3 separate regions of the Homo sapiens genome follow, and regions 2 and 3 are each linked to region 1. The links are contacts of gene promoters, found by promoter capture Hi-C in human tissues and cell types (Jung and others, 2019). All regions are on one chromosome and are shown on one strand. The core of a region is centred on a gene start or on the middle of the fragment in contact, and the rest is flanking DNA. Distances in the headings are between cores, read along the strand shown. Region 1 holds the start of KITLG (KIT ligand). Region 2 has its middle 210 kb from the start of LINC02458. Region 3 has its middle 200 kb from the start of KITLG.

The links. The method cuts DNA at HindIII sites, captures the fragments that hold promoters and counts their contacts. A contact is called where the count stands out against the background at its distance.
Region 2: a contact is called between a fragment that was not itself captured here and the fragment with the promoter of KITLG in region 1, in 1 of the 25 tissues and cell types used here (H1 embryonic stem cells).
Region 3: a contact is called between a fragment that was not itself captured here and the fragment with the promoter of KITLG in region 1, in 2 of the 25 tissues and cell types used here (H1 embryonic stem cells and heart right ventricle).

What each region holds. Positions count from the first base shown.
Region 1 is chr12:88,577,650-88,582,769 of GRCh38, reverse strand. It overlaps KITLG (KIT ligand), which reads left to right and starts at 2,299. Exons shown (of 10, transcript NM_000899.5): 1 at 2,299-2,506. The coding sequence starts at 2,492. LOC105369885 (a long non-coding RNA gene) reads right to left here and starts at 2,234. Exons shown (of 4, transcript NR_188177.1): 1 at 2,160-2,234; 2 at 632-773. It also overlaps the pseudogene RNU1-117P. The HindIII fragment of the contact is 2,929 bases long and covers 57-2,985 here.
Region 2 is chr12:88,805,462-88,810,581 of GRCh38, reverse strand. No RefSeq gene overlaps it. Among named protein-coding and RNA genes, the nearest start is that of LINC02458, 210 kb to the left of the region's middle. The HindIII fragment of the contact is 9,769 bases long and covers 1-5,120 here.
Region 3 is chr12:88,776,425-88,781,544 of GRCh38, reverse strand. No RefSeq gene overlaps it. Among named protein-coding and RNA genes, the nearest start is that of KITLG, 200 kb to the right of the region's middle. The HindIII fragment of the contact is 3,763 bases long and covers 477-4,239 here.

The DNA.
Region 1 (5,120 bases), core at 1,050-3,549:
GCATGATAACTACAGTTAATGTACTGTATACAGTTAACCCTTGAACAACACAGGTTTGAACTGTATGGGTCTACTTATATGCAATTTTTTTTTCAAACTCAGATGGAAAATACAGTGTTCTAGAGATGTAAAACCCATGTATAAGCAGGGCTGACTTTTGTGTCTGCACGTTCTGCAGGGTTGACTGTGGGACTTGAATATATGTAGATTTTGGTATACCTGAAAGGTCTAGGAATCAATCCCCTGAATATACTGAGGTACTCCAAAACTACAAAGAGTAGATGTTAAATACTCTCAGCTCCCAAAAATGATGAGTATGTGAGGTGATGGATATACTATTTAGCCTGATTTAATAATTTCACAATGTATACATAAGCAGAACATCACATTGTACGTGGTAAATAGATACTATTTTTGTCAAATATAACTTAATAAAGCTGGAGAAAAAAAATAAAATTCTCCACTTCAAAAAAGCCTTAAAGGGGCCGGGTGCAGTGGCTCACGCCTGTAATCCCAGCACTTTGGAAGGCTGAGGCAGGCGGATCACCTGAGGTCAGGAGTTCGAGACCAGCCTGGCCAAAATGGTGAAACCCCGTCTCTACTAAAACAACAACAACAACAACAAAAATACCTGGGCGTGGTGGTGGGCACCTGTAATCCCAGCTACTTGTGAGACTGAGGCGGGATAATCGCTTAAACCTGGGAGGCGGAGGCTGCATTGAGCCGAGATTGCGTCATTGCACTTCAGCCTGGGAGACAGAGCGAGATTCCATCTAAAAAATAAAAAATAAAAATAAATCTTGAAGAAAAAAAAAACAATCATTTGCTATGCCTCCAGTATCCAAATTAAGCTCATTTTGATATTTGATGTTCGATATATTTGTACTAAGAGTACCTAATGTATAAAAATCTTTCTAAGCAACTATCAACTTGGAATCATGATTGATGTGCTGTCTATACATATTTTTTCTAACATGAGAAAGTGAGAACGCAGTCCCCCACTAAATTATGCAGTCGAGTTTCCCACATTTGGGGAAATCACAGAAGTCAGCACATCTGGAGTGAAATAAACAAGCTTCGCCCTGATTACAGGTTTGGCATATTCATGTTTAACAAACGCACCGGAACTAATTAAAGCAAATTTGGACTCCTACTCTATTATTAAAATAACTAATTCCTAAACTCATACATTATTCTTTCTTTTAAAGATCACTGATGTTAATGTTCAGCTAATATTTTCTTTTAAAAAATTAATGAAATGCTTTGGAATGTTCTCCAGTTATACAAACAAAAACAGACACATTCTGGAGAATCAATAAAATATTTGAAGTATTTTTTAAGACTGTACAGCTGGAGCTCCAGGTTTAAATTAGAGCTCTGCCATTTACTAGATATGGTTGGTCAAGAAAATTAACCTTGTATTTCATCGTCCATAAAATGGGAATAAAATAATAAGATCTACACTAATAGATTTGATGAAAGAATTTAATGAGATAATCTATGCGAAGTTCTTAGTCTGGCACCTGGCACATGAATAAGTGCATCACATAATGATGTTAGCTATTATTATTGTGGTTGCATTATCTTTCCGTTCAAAAAAGTACAACTTTCAAAGCCTTGCTGTGTTGGCGACCTGTAGTTTAATAATCTATCGCTTCTCTTTCAATCTTAATTTCTAAAGACACAGTAACAAACCATTCCAAATGAAGCGTCTCCCCTTGCAATACTTAACCTTGAGTCAACAATTCTTGTAATTATTAAATATTCATTCACTAAAGTAATTGTTTTTTTTAAAAAATAGAGGTGATAGGACAATGGCCTAACTACAGATCGCAATTAAACTTTATTTCTCTAAGGCAGGCAGGGTGAATTCTTTGCTCCGAACCTCCCGGACTCCTCTCCCTCTCCGACTTTGTATAACAGAGGGAGCTCCGAGCCCTCTCTGGCGCGCGAGGTATTTCGTCTGTCCCCGGGGGTGCCAGGTGAGCCCCAGCGGATCCGGGAGGGTAAGCTGGGACTCCTCGCGAGCAGTAGCTGCAGGGTACCAAGCTTCGCCCTCTGCGTCCCCGCGCCTTCGCGGTCTCCCGCCAGTGCAGGTCCGGGGCCCCCAGGCGAGCGGACAAGGTTGGCCTAATCTGCCAAACTTCTGGGGCATTTACCGTGCTCTGGCCGCCCTCCCGATTCTTCCCTCCGCGCCCTTGCCTGCTTCTCGCCTACCCCGGGCTCCGGAAGGGAAGGAGGCGTGTCCGGAGCAGGCGGGCGGGAACTGTATAAAAGCGCCGGCGGCTCAGCAGCCGGGCTTCGCTCGCCGCCTCGCGCCGAGACTAGAAGCGCTGCGGGAAGCAGGGACAGTGGAGAGGGCGCTGCGCTCGGGCTACCCAATGCGTGGACTATCTGCCGCCGCTGTTCGTGCAATATGCTGGAGCTCCAGAACAGCTAAACGGAGTCGCCACACCACTGTTTGTGCTGGATCGCAGCGCTGCCTTTCCTTATGAAGAAGACACAAGTGAGTAGGGCGCGCCCGGGAGCTCCCAGGCTCTCCAGGAAAAATCGCGCCCGGTGCCCCGGGGAAGCCGGCGCTCCCTGGGACTTGCAGCTGGGGCGTGCAGGGCTGTGCCTGCCGGGTGAGACAAGAGGATGCGGGGGAGGCCGGCGTGGTGTGTGATCCCGAGCCGAGCCGGGTGAGCCAGGGAGAAAAGGAGTGGGAGTGCTGAGAGGGAGCCAGTGTCAAGTTTGGAGCCTCAGCAGTTAAGTTTTGAGCTGTCAGTCGGAAACCGTAATTCCCGTCTGGTGGAAAGATTGGCTTTTGGGCCATGGAATGTTAAGTTATCACGGGAAGGCATGTCTTTGCATAGGAGACGGTTTTCCCGTGGATTCCAGGAGATTATGAAACAGCACCCCACGCGCCACCCTCACTAGCTCTCTCACTCAGATTTATTTGTGTAGCCCCGAGGTGGGCGCCGGGCACCAGGAGCGGCGCGAACGCGGGTGCAGCCGCGGGAGCGAAGCCAACGCGGAACTCCTAAGCGGCAGCTCTCGGCGGGGCGGGAACCTGCCCGCCTGCCCGGGAAACTTGGCTCTCGGCGGTGTCTGCCTAGTTTGCAGCTCTGTGTGGGCTCTAAAGAGCTCTAGTACCTCCACAATGCACGCACCTTTTTCCATTTCAAAAGGGATAAAGGCTTTTTATAAAATAGGCACCTCTGAATGATAGTGATTGAGATAATTCCCAGTGCTGCTAAATTCTGCATTATACATAAAGCACTGTGGGTAAAGCGCTGCCTGGGGGGACAATTAGATTTTTTTTTCCCTTGAAGAAAATACCTGGTTCTTCGTTTAGAAAGGGCCGCCACGGTGCCCCTATCCACAGTTCTCTTCACCATTGTTGATTGTTACCTCCTCTCACTTTCCCCCTTAGAAATTGTTATGTGTTATCTGCCGCGGTTGGCTAAGGGTTGCCCTTTCACCCCCCAGAGGTTCTGTTGGAGATTGCAGTTCCTGAAATGTGTGGAAGGGGTGGAAGTGGTGGGGAAAAAGGAAACCGGGGTGTTTGTACACATCGTTGGTGTAGAATGAAGGCATCAATGTGCTCAAAATGCTTTATCAAATGACCTGCTTAGCATCATATTTTAAACAGATATCTAGGCCTGCAAAAAGTTGCAAGACTCTAGCCCCTTGTACCGGTGTGGTAAAAGGCAGGGGAAAGGGACATTGCCTGGCTAAAAGAGGCTTGCATAGTCTCTAGAGCACTCTCTAAGAGAAAAGACGCGATGTGCCTCTCCCCTCTCTTACAAGCAGGTTAGCTTTCAGGCAAGGCATTGAGCACCGCACCTGGAATCACCACAGCGTGCTGTCGAAATGCAAATGTTAAAGATTCTTGCAACAAAAGAAAAGTTTTATTGTAATCTCTTGATTTAGACAAGCTTTCTGCGAAATTATAAGAAGGGTAGAGACCTATTCCTTCTTATAGTAGCATCTGCTCCCATGGATGGTGGTGAGATCTGGGGGAAGAAGCTGCTACCTTCTAGTTCAGGAAAAGAGCCTAAACCTTCCTATTTAAACAAGAACACAGGAGACAGATAAGGTTAATGTCCAACACTCCAAAGCCAGGGGATGTACTATCAAGTCACTTTGAGAGGCAGTAGGATTGATTATCCTTGCACCCTTGCTTTGCAAAACAAATGTGAGCTCTGTAATCTCCTTTCTCGCTTTGATTAAATGGCTGTGTAAATCGGATTACATGGAATAATTCCATTGAAAACTAGAAAGAGGTCAATCTAGTCTGAAACATTGTGACTGTGGCATTAGTGACTCAGTGCTGCCGACCAGAGAAATTTGAGAAAGCTAAGTATTTTAGATATGTGACCTGTTCGGTCACACATCACACAAGTTAAAGTGCAGGCCCTTTGGGGGAACTTGCTGATGTTAAACGGCTTGTAGGCAAAGGAGGGCAGTACCCTTGTTGAATGAAGGCATTCATTGCCTAGGATCTAATGACCTTCAAGGTTTTTTTTAAGAATACTTCTAGCGATTCCACAGTCACTGAAAAAGGGGACACTGGAAATAGCCCAAAATCAATAAAATAATCTGCAGAAATGGAGGAGGGGATTAGATCTTTCATATTGTTAAATTTTCTAATCCAAAAATTACAAAGACATTTTCTGTGCAATGCTGCATGGATGGAAGGTAGCCTATGTAAATTGGACATTAAGAAATAGGATCGATTGTTCTGATTCTAATGTTATCCTCACCAGGGAAGAATATCTATTAATATTTAGTAGTTTAAATAGTCATTTATAAACATGGCATCAATACCATGGTTCTATTATAAAGCAACTTGTTCTGTACTCTCCTACTACCCCACATATAAAAAAAATTTATAGTAATATTTTAAAATGGGGTTTGATTTGAATTACACAGCTCTCCAAGAATCATGGGGACTCCAGGTATTCTGGCCTTTCCGTCAAGCTAAGTAAGTGTGAAAATTCCATCAACAACCACTTGGGGTTTGATGAATGATTCATTCATTTAGCATGTTGGTACACTTCAGTATTTCCAATATAATGACACAGGCAATAAATTTAAGCACAGTTCTACAGAAATGAATGTCTTTTGAATTTTTC
Region 2 (5,120 bases), core at 1,697-4,196, 230 kb before region 1:
ATGTTCCCCTCCCTGTGTCCATGTGTTCTCATTGTTCACCTCCCACTTATGAGTGAGAACATGCAGAGTTTGGTTTCCTGTTCTTGTGTTAGCTGGCTGAGAATGATGATTTCCAACTTCATCCATGTCCCTGCAAAGGAAATGAACTCATCCTTTTTATGGCTCCACAGTATTCCATGGTGTATATGTGACACATTTTCTTTATCCAGCCTATCATTGATGGGCATTTGGGTTGGTTTCAAGTCTTTGCTATTGTGAACAGTGCTGTTAAAAACATATGTGTGCATGTGTCTTTATAGTAGAATGATTTATAATCCTTTGGGTATGTACTCAGTAATGGGATTGCTGGGTCAAGTGGTATTTCTGGTTCTAAATCCTTGAGGAATCACCACACTGTCTTCCACAATGGTTGACCTAATTTACACTCCCACCAACAATGTAAAACTGTTTCTATTTCTCCACATCCTCTCCAGCATCTGTTGTTTCCTGACTTTTTAATGATCACCATTCTAACTGGCGTGAGATGGTATCTCATTGTGGTTTTGATTTGCATTTCCCTAGTGACCAGTGATGATCAGCTTTTTTTCTGTTTGTTGGCTGCATAAATGTCTTCTTTTGAGAAGTGCCTGTTCATATCCTTTGCCAACTTTTTGATGGGGTTGTTTGATTTTTTTTCTTGTAAATTTGTTTAAATTCTTTGTAGATTCTGGATTTTAGCCCTTTGTCAGATGCATAGGTTGCAAAAAATTTTCTCCCATTCTGTAGGTTGCCTGTTCACTCTGCTGATAGTTTCGTTTGCTGTGCAGAAACTCTTTAGTTAATTGGATCCCATTTGTCAATTTTGGCTTTTGTTGCCATTGGTTTTGATGTTTTAGTCATGAAGTCTTTGCCCATGCCTATGTCCTGAATGGTATTGCCTAGGTTTTCTTCTAGGGTTTTTATGGTTTTAGGTCTAACATTTAAGTCTTTAATCCATCTTGAATTAATTTTTGTATAAGGTGTAAGGAAGGGGTCCAGTTTCAGTTTTCTGCATATCGCTAGCCAGTTTTCCCAGCACCATCACAAAACTATAGATTATACTAAGATAAATTATGGTTTAGACTGCTAATTGATGGCTTTACAGCATAGTAGCATCTCACATGGAATAAACTTTAATCTCAGTGCTTAAAATAAAAATAAAGGATTGAGTGTGGTGTAATCCCAGAATTTTGGGAAGCTGAGGTAGGAGAATCACTTGAGGTCAGAAATTTGAGACCAGCCTGGGCAACAAAGCAAGATCTCATCTCTACACACACATTCACAAAAATTGTCTCGGTGTGGTGGTGCACTTCTAGTCCCAGCTACTTAGGAGCCTGAGGCAGGAGGATTGCTTGAGCCCAGGAGGTGCAGTCTGCACTGAGCCATGATAGTGCCAACTGTAGTCCAGCCTGGGAGACAGAATGCAACACTGTATTTACAAACAAAATTAAGTTTAATTAAAATAGAAAAAATAATGCCCTTGAAAATGACCTTCAAATACAGTATGGTACTGGCTTTCAATAAGTTCAATACAATTGTTCCTCCAGCCTTAGAATAAAGCTCTGTTTCTTTCGTTAAGCACCAGGTGATAGCTGGCTTGCATGGAAGGCACTTAAGGACCATGCTGTAAAAAAAAAATATGTACTGCATATTTATAAATGAAGATCACACTCACCGTAGCAAGATACTCTCACTTAGGCAGAAGTTAGATAACTTGGGAAACAACAGATTCACGTTGTTCATTTCATGTTCACTCACAGCCATAAATTCATCCCGAGGACAGAGGACAAAATCAAATGATGTCTTTTTCTCTCTGTCTCCTACATATGTATAATTGAATTTAAATTACATAAGCATACCTGCTGCTCTGCTGTAATATTTGCTAGATGACTTCAGTACACTAGATCCTTTAACATCTATAAACAATCTTTTCACAAACATGTTCGAGAGTTAGACTTAATTTTACTAAGAGGTTTTTTTAATCCATTAAAACAAACAAACAAAGAGGCCGTCCCCCCTACCACCCCCACAAGGAATTTGGCAGAGCTATTGCCCAAATTGTGTTAGGAGCATAACAATGATACCAAAAGAAAAACTGTGGAGCCAAAATATCCAAACTAGTTATTTGCTTGGGCCTTTTAACACAGCTGTGATACACAACAAGAATCTGGAAACATATGCCTCTCTCCGATATGGAGATGGAAGGGGACTAGAAGGAAGAGATGGAACAAAGCAGTATGACCATATTGAATGCACTAATTGGTGCTATACATGCTGAAATTCAATTATATTGGTAATTGAGGTAGAAAGATTTTCTGAGTAGACACAAAAGCAGAATTTCCCAACCAACACAGCTTTAGACTATATCAAACCTCTGTTTTACACAGTAAACCAGTAAACAAATATTTTGCTGGCAGAAATTCTACTTAATCTATGCAGATATACAGCAGGTGAATCAATCATGAAATGGGCTCTAAGATCAATAATTAAAACTGAAAAATGAGCCAGCCAGGTACCATGGCTCATACCTGTAATCCTAGCACTTTGGGAGGCCAAGGAGAGCAGATTGCTTGAGCTCGTGAGTTCGAAACCGTCTCTACTAAATATATAAAAATTAGCTGGGCATGGTGGTGCATGCCTGTAGTTCCAGCTACTTGAGGGGATGAGGCAGGAAGATCGCTTGAATCTGGGATGTTGAGGCTGCATTGAGCCAATACTGCACCACTGCACTCCAGCCTGGGTGACAAAGTGGGACGCTGTCTCAAAAAAAAAAGGAAAAAAAAAATTGAAAAAATGAACATTTTTTCTTCTGGAGGATGGACGCACTATATGGACGTTTATAAATAGACTCATTGATTTCTATGGAAATAAAAATCAAAAGAGAGTATGTATTTGAGGCAAACTGGGGAAAATGCATCCCAACTTTATCCCAGGCCTACACTGACTTTTGATATCTTCATAGGCTCACTATTTTTTTCTATTATTTAAAATATTTAACACACTCTTGCCAAAATGTGTTTGAGGAAAATGTATAGTCTAAGATTCTGAAAAATGAGGAGAAAATAAAAAAATAAGGGAAGAAAAAAAGGCGGTGTGGCAGGGTGTCTTAGATGCAATTAAAATACACTAAGGAAATTGTGAAAAAGTTGTAATAAACTGGTAGTGCATTAAAGTCATATGGTTATATTTTAAAGAATACCACACATTTTTTAAAACCACAAAAAGATAAGTCTAAAATAATGATGAGCAGCTAATTTTATCTGTGTGTGTGTGTGGAAACCATGGCACTTATTAAAATAATTACCCGAGAACCTCAAACTGGTGTTTACTTTATAAAATATATGCAATCTTTGTAGTGATATCTAGGTGTAACAAATTAGTTGGATTGTAAAAAGCCCTCAATTCAGAGTTCTATTAGTAATTTATTAAGTCCTAAATTGCAAGTACATAGATTACTTCACGCATTTCTAAATCTGATGTTAGGGCTGAATTATGATGAATCAGGTTTTATTTGGGGATTTTGTGAACAGAGCAAAAAGTCTTTTCACATAGATGACACAAAGAATCTACTCCCAAGGGAGTTTTAAAATTCTACCCATCATTTAATACAAAAAAGCAGGCTCTCTAGACAATCCATCTCCCCACAGAAAAACAGAAAGAAAGGGAAAGAAAGAGATACGGAGACATTTGGGAATATTTTTAAGAACTACTCATCCCTAGAAACTTTAGTGAAAATTTTGAGAAATTGAATATGGTGCATTCTTTACTGTTGGTGGCAACATTGTACCTCTTGCCACCTTCAAACAAAGTTGTAATCAATAAGAAATAATTGAATATTAAGGCCAGGGGTGGTGGCTCACACCTGTAATCCCAGCACTTTGGGAAGCTGAGGCAGGCGGATCACCTGAGGCCAGGAGTTCGATACCAGCCTGACCAACATGGCGAAACCCTATCTCTACTAAAAATACAAGAAACATTAGCTGGGCGTGGTGGTGTGTGCCTGTAGTCCTAGCTACTCGGGAGGCTGAGGCATGAGAACTGCTTGAACCTGGGAGGGGGAGGTTGCAGTGATCCGAGATTGCGCCATTGCACTCCAGCCTGGGTGACAGAGCAATACTCTGTCTCAAAAAAAAAAAAAAAAAGTTGAATATTTATTTAAGTACTGATTTGTTTGAATAGTGGGTATGCATGTATTCTCTCAATTGATTTGTTTGGTTTTGAGCTAATATTACTTTAACCACCCTCCACCCCAATTGTATAGATAAGGAAACTGTGTTTCAGAAAAGTTCAGTTCTTTGGAGAGCTTCTTTGTATTCTTCTGCTTCTAAATTGTTAGCCACAGAGAAAGTAACAAAGATAAACTATTCCTACTTATTCCTAGACCCGGATTTTAAGTTTCATCTTATTTGTAGAGAGCAAATGTTTTCTTCCTTTTCCTAAGTTCCTCCCTCAGTCCTTTCTCTCTTTGTCCACTAGCCTCTTCCTATAGGAGGAGGAGGAAGAAGAGGAGGAGAAGAAAACATACCCACTGGTGAGAGTAAAAAAACGGCCCCAGACCTTGCTTGCAAGGCCCAGACCCCATCTGGCTTCTCAAGATCTTCCTCTCCCTAGGCCTCCCTCATTCTGTTCTGCTCCTTGCTCTACAGAGGCAGGCTGGGGTTTCCTGTGTGGTCAGTAGGGCTATAGTTAAGCTCTGAAAGTCTATAGGCTTCTAGGCCTGGATTTGAGACTGGAAGCAACAGAGGCACATTTTAACCCCCCAGTTTGCATTGTGCTCACCAGTCTAACATTATAGAGTTGCTCATTTATCTCTGGCTCCTGGTTCAGAATCCAGAAGGAGTGTTGACATTTCCAAAATCTCAGCATACTCCTTTTATTGTCACTGTTGCTACTTAGAAAACAGAACATTTGATCCCTGAAAAAGAATATGCTAATAAACTTTAGTCCACTTGAAAAAATCTAAGTTTAAGAAGCTAAAAATGTGTGTAATTAAAAAAATGTTCTCCCATGACTGCAAAAACTAAAATGGAAAAATTTCCAAATCTTGCTTTTTGGGGACATATAAAGGAAGTAATACAAAACTAAATAATTTTGTAAGTTTT
Region 3 (5,120 bases), core at 1,109-3,608, 200 kb before region 1:
GTAGCAATCCTTTTTCACACTTCCTGTATTATTACAGAGAGGTGCCGTTTTGTGTAACAACTTATGAGGCTGCTAGTGGTAACTTCAGTTGTAGCAGCAGTAGACTTGGGGGACAGACAAAAGATCTTGCATTTGTCTGTTGATTAAGTGATAAGCACCATCAATACGTTCACAAAGAATAGGGGAGGAAATAACACCCTGACTCAATGCTGTTGCCACCTTGGGTATGTGAATCCATTGGTATTCTTGTTAATTTGATGAAATATAAGCTCTAAATTTAGAAACTGAATATTTTCTGTTTACTTCATTACACTGTATTATATGACATTAAAGAGCAGATTAAGCAAGAAGTATGATGTTTAATATAAAAAGTACTAATATTATATTTCCAGTTAAAAAAAGGTCTTCCAAACAAGTGAAGGAATTTATATGTTGTATCAAATGTCTCCAAACACCAGAACTTCTTGATATTGTTGTGATTCTTATTAGTATGAAAAAGGATACAATTGACATAGTTCATAGTAAACGTTAAATACTCTGAAAATGCATTAGTAATAGGATTTGAATTCACTCATCAACATAAAAAGCATTAAAATATTTTGTTTTGTTTTTGAGAAATAAGGACTAGCACCAAGTCAAGAGTTATATGATACAGAGAAAAATAGCAGCCCCCCTTCAAAGGGCATATAACCTTGAGGAGATTAGATATGTGCATTAACAGTTAAATAATCGAGTGGTTGAATAAGGAGTTATAGAACATATAAAACCACAGAAAATGGATGTCATGGTGCAAATGTATGATTAAATTAAAATCTAATTAGTAGTAAAGACATTAAATGCTATGAGGTCATAGGCTACAGAGTGCATGTGTGTTGTTGTGGTCAAGAAGGCTTCATGGGGAAATGAGAAATTAAGTGGCATTAAAGTAGCAGGAGGAAATGGGCAGAGGGAGAAGCAAGGGATAGGTTTTCAGAAGGGGAGAGGGAGACGTAGAGGGAGGTTACAGTAAGACTTGAGGGCAAGGAGAAGGGGGAATCCACCATTAATACCAGGCAGTGACTATATTAATCTGGACATAGTCAAACATTTATGAGGGAGAATGGTGGAAAATGGGCTGGAATGTTAGGCTGAAGAAAGCTTCGGACTCCTCCAGTTGGACCTTTATTGAAAATTTCCCCTGAATGGTAGTCTTCCACTTCCTCTCCGGGTCTCTGATGGTATATTGACTTTGGTAGAGTGTGCTGGATGTCATCAATGCCCTTGTTTGATTCATTGCCTCATATTCAGAATCAAAATGCAGAGCTTGGTACAAACTGGCTTTTACAAAAGATGCAGATGACTGCAAAATCAAAGTTTCTGGAATGTGCATCTGTTTGTCTTTTATCTCAACCGTCTGTTGGGCACTTACACTGAAACCCTGCTACTCTTCCCTCTAATCAGGTCTACAATGAAATTCTGCTTCATTCTGAATGCCTGTCTTCCCTATATTTGTTGGAGGCACTTCAAGGCAGTTCCATTATCACAGCTGCCTGAGCTGAAACTATTCTCCAATACACATAAGATGACTAAATAATTTATCATCCAAGTGAAAGGAGTGTTATCAATAATTCTTCTGGGACAACAGATATAAATTGGATGATTCTAGGGAAACAGGGCTAACAGTTACACTATTCAATTTTTCTGTCATTGTGTTCTGTCAATTCCTTATTTTAATTATCTTAATTTTTCTCCTTTTTCTCTCATTGCTTCTGTATCAATCCCCACACTGAGTTCAACTGCACCCTCTGTACTTTCTTGCTAGTCACCTGCCCCTCTCCCTTCATTCCATCCTGACACAGGCAAATGTACCTAAAACTCTATTTTGAGTGTTACTCTCTTGTTCAAGAACCTACAATGAGTCTTCAATGTTTCTCCCCAAAAGAATGAAATTTTCAGCTGAGCACAGTGGCTCACACCTGTAATCCCAGCACGTTGGGAGGCCAAGGTGGGGGGACTGCTTGAGCCCAAAAGTTTAAGACTAGCTTGGGCAGTATAGTGAGATCTTGTCTTTACAAAAAAAATTTTTTTAATTAGCCAGGTATGGTGGTGCGTACTTGTAGTCCCAGCTACTTGAGAGGCTGAGGCGGGAGGATTGCTTGAGCCCTGGAGGTCAAAGCTGTGGTGAGCCAGGATTGCACTACTGCACTCCAGCCTGGGCAACAGAATGAGACCCTGTCTCAAAAAAAGTAAATAAATAAATAAATAAACTTTTCTTTCTGGCTCTTTAGGACCAGCTTGATCTACATGTACCTACCTGTTCTTATTTTCTACTGTTCCCAACTACAGCGCTGGATTTTCAGGATTTTCCATAAATACTCTTCCTTCCTTCCTTCCTTTTTATTTATTTATTTTTGCTTTTGCAAGTACTGATTATCCACATCTACATCATGCCCTTTTATTTTTTTTCCTAATCAAGTTACTGTATAATCTTTAGAGCCTTCCCTGATACTGAACTCTTCTTTGAACTTCTTAATAATCTTACATTGAATCCTTGACAAACCACTAAGCTTTTGAGTTCATGTTTTCTTTTGCTACCATGATTTCAGGTTTGTTTTCTTAAACAATTTCTCCTTAAACTAGATTGTTAATTCCTTGAGGATACAGAATGGGGTGTCATATATCATTCACATAAGGGTATTTTTGAATATATGATGAGAGATGTGTCTTTCCCATCAAAATCTCTTCTTTTTTTTTTGAGACAGGGTGTGGCTCTGTTGCCCAGGCTGAAGTGCAGTGGGGTAATTTCAGTTCACTGCGACCTCCACTTCCTGGACTCAATCAATCTTCCCACCTCAGCCTACCCAGTAGCTGGGATCACAGGTGCAAAATCTCTTCTTATTCCACTCCTGCTTAATTTGCCCTTGACCACTTCTAAAAACCAAAAGAAGACCAAAAAAAAAATCAAGCATCTATTTTCATTTCACAAGTATCTACCCTGTAAAACCTAAAGTAATGGTATTCTCTCCCTACTAAGTGAAACAAATACATTCCAAGATGTGAGGTATTATTACTGTTCTCAGTCTTCAAAGTCTACCCAATTCAGCAGAATCATTCTCAGATGGCCACAGAGTTTGCTTTCTTATGCATAATGGATTCATATACAAAAATTTTCTGACCAGGATTATTCCTGGTAAAATGTAAATCTGGTGTTGTTCCCTGTGCTTTTATATGTTTCTATCTTTAAGCTCGAATGTAATGCCTTACATAAACCTGCATGTTTAGGGTGGAGGGGATGGTGAATTTAATTCAAATGTAATGCAAATGTAATTCCCACTACAATATAGATCTTCAGAGGCCATGAATAATATTCCTCCTGAAGCCCTCTTGTTGATTAATTCAGGGAGGGGGATTAAGGATTCAAACTGGTGTACTTAATGTGATTTAAAAATGTAAACAGTGCACTGAATGGGTGTTCTGTCTCTTGATTGGTTACCTGATATACTTCATTAGCTAATGTCCTCTTAAAAGAGGAGATGGGAGGTGAGGGGTTTATAGGTGGTATAAAATAGCAGTCCTTGGGTGTGATATTCTCTGCCTCTTCCTTTGTCTCCTTCCGTGGTCCTCTTGGCCCTGTGAAGACACACGGCCAATGCTGGAAATTGAGTCTGCTGGGCTCTCCATTTGGTTCACTGGCCTGGCTGTTTACCATCAGCCTTTCTTGCCTGGTCACCTTGGTCCTTGATTCAGTGTCTGTGATCCATGGAACTTGTGATACATGGTCATACATGGTGGGTCAGAAGTTTTAAACCTCAGGAAAGTGGGGGCCACCATCCCATGTCACTGTGAGGCCATCACAAGTTGGCTCTGTTCTAGTATACCTACGTAGGTTACAGTGAAAGGCACTCCACCTTGCTGTTTCCCTCAAATTCTAGGACCTGCCTTTTTTAAAAATTTCTATTCAAGAAAGAAAGGAAGCCTTGATTTTCTACTTCTGACTTCCATTTTCTTTTCCCTATTTACCTCTGAACAGGAGAAAAATAAAGTAAGCTTTTTTTCCTCTATCTATACTCCTTCTTCCTGGTTTTAGCAGTGGACTAGGCACTCTAGGAGCTGGAGTCTCCAGGTCTGGGGCCTAGAAGTGTTTAAAGAGAACGTAACCTCCCTGCACATAAAGCCAGCCTTTCATTACAATTGTCTTACAAGGAGACCGAGTCCCAGCATTCTCCTGCCCTAAACCAGATTTAACAAAGCAAATTAATACCATCAATTTAATTATATTTAAAAAATAAATATCTTGATTATACACAAAGTCAATGGAATACCTCTTCTTTTTCATTGATGGAAAAAATTTCTCACAAAATATACTCCTGAGTGAAGGCATTGGTTTTCATAATTAGATCCTAATAGTATGTAATTATAAAATTATTTCTTACAATTATACAGTCATATATGTATGGCTATAAAAATGCAAAGCTTAAGCATCAACGATCATTGCAGATACCCCACATATCTTAAAAGAAGTTAAAAATGCCAGCTTCATACATAGCATCATTCTGAGCAATAATTATTACTACTGTTAATTACTTATCTATTATACCCTAAAATTATTTACTCACAACCATGACATTAATAGTATACTGCTTGGAATTTCACCAGATAAAGACAGCCTGCTAATTCTTTCATATTCTCTCTTTTCTTTTTAATACAATATTCATTCAGTATTTGTTAGAAAGCTGCTTTGAACCAAGCCTTTCATGGGTAAAGCAACAGAAATAATAAATATGGGTCCTCAATCAGAGGAACTCACATACTTTTGTATACCAAGTATTTTCTATACTATCTTCCTCCTTACTTTCATTTAATTTCATAATATAACAGTTTCCCAAATCTATGGCAGATATTTCTCTGAATGATGATTAGAAATGAATAGCAGAGTCTAAGTCTCGTAGTTTTCTTTTGGATAACTATTTTATCCAAAAGATTATCCAAAAGATTAATGATTCTGCTTTTCATTTATATGCTTAGTTGTTCATTCTAATTTTTACATATTCATTTGTTCATTCATTCATTCCATAAACATTTATTAAGCAATGACTGAGTCCACTGCTGTAGTTGGCCTCTAGACTTAAACCATCTATCTT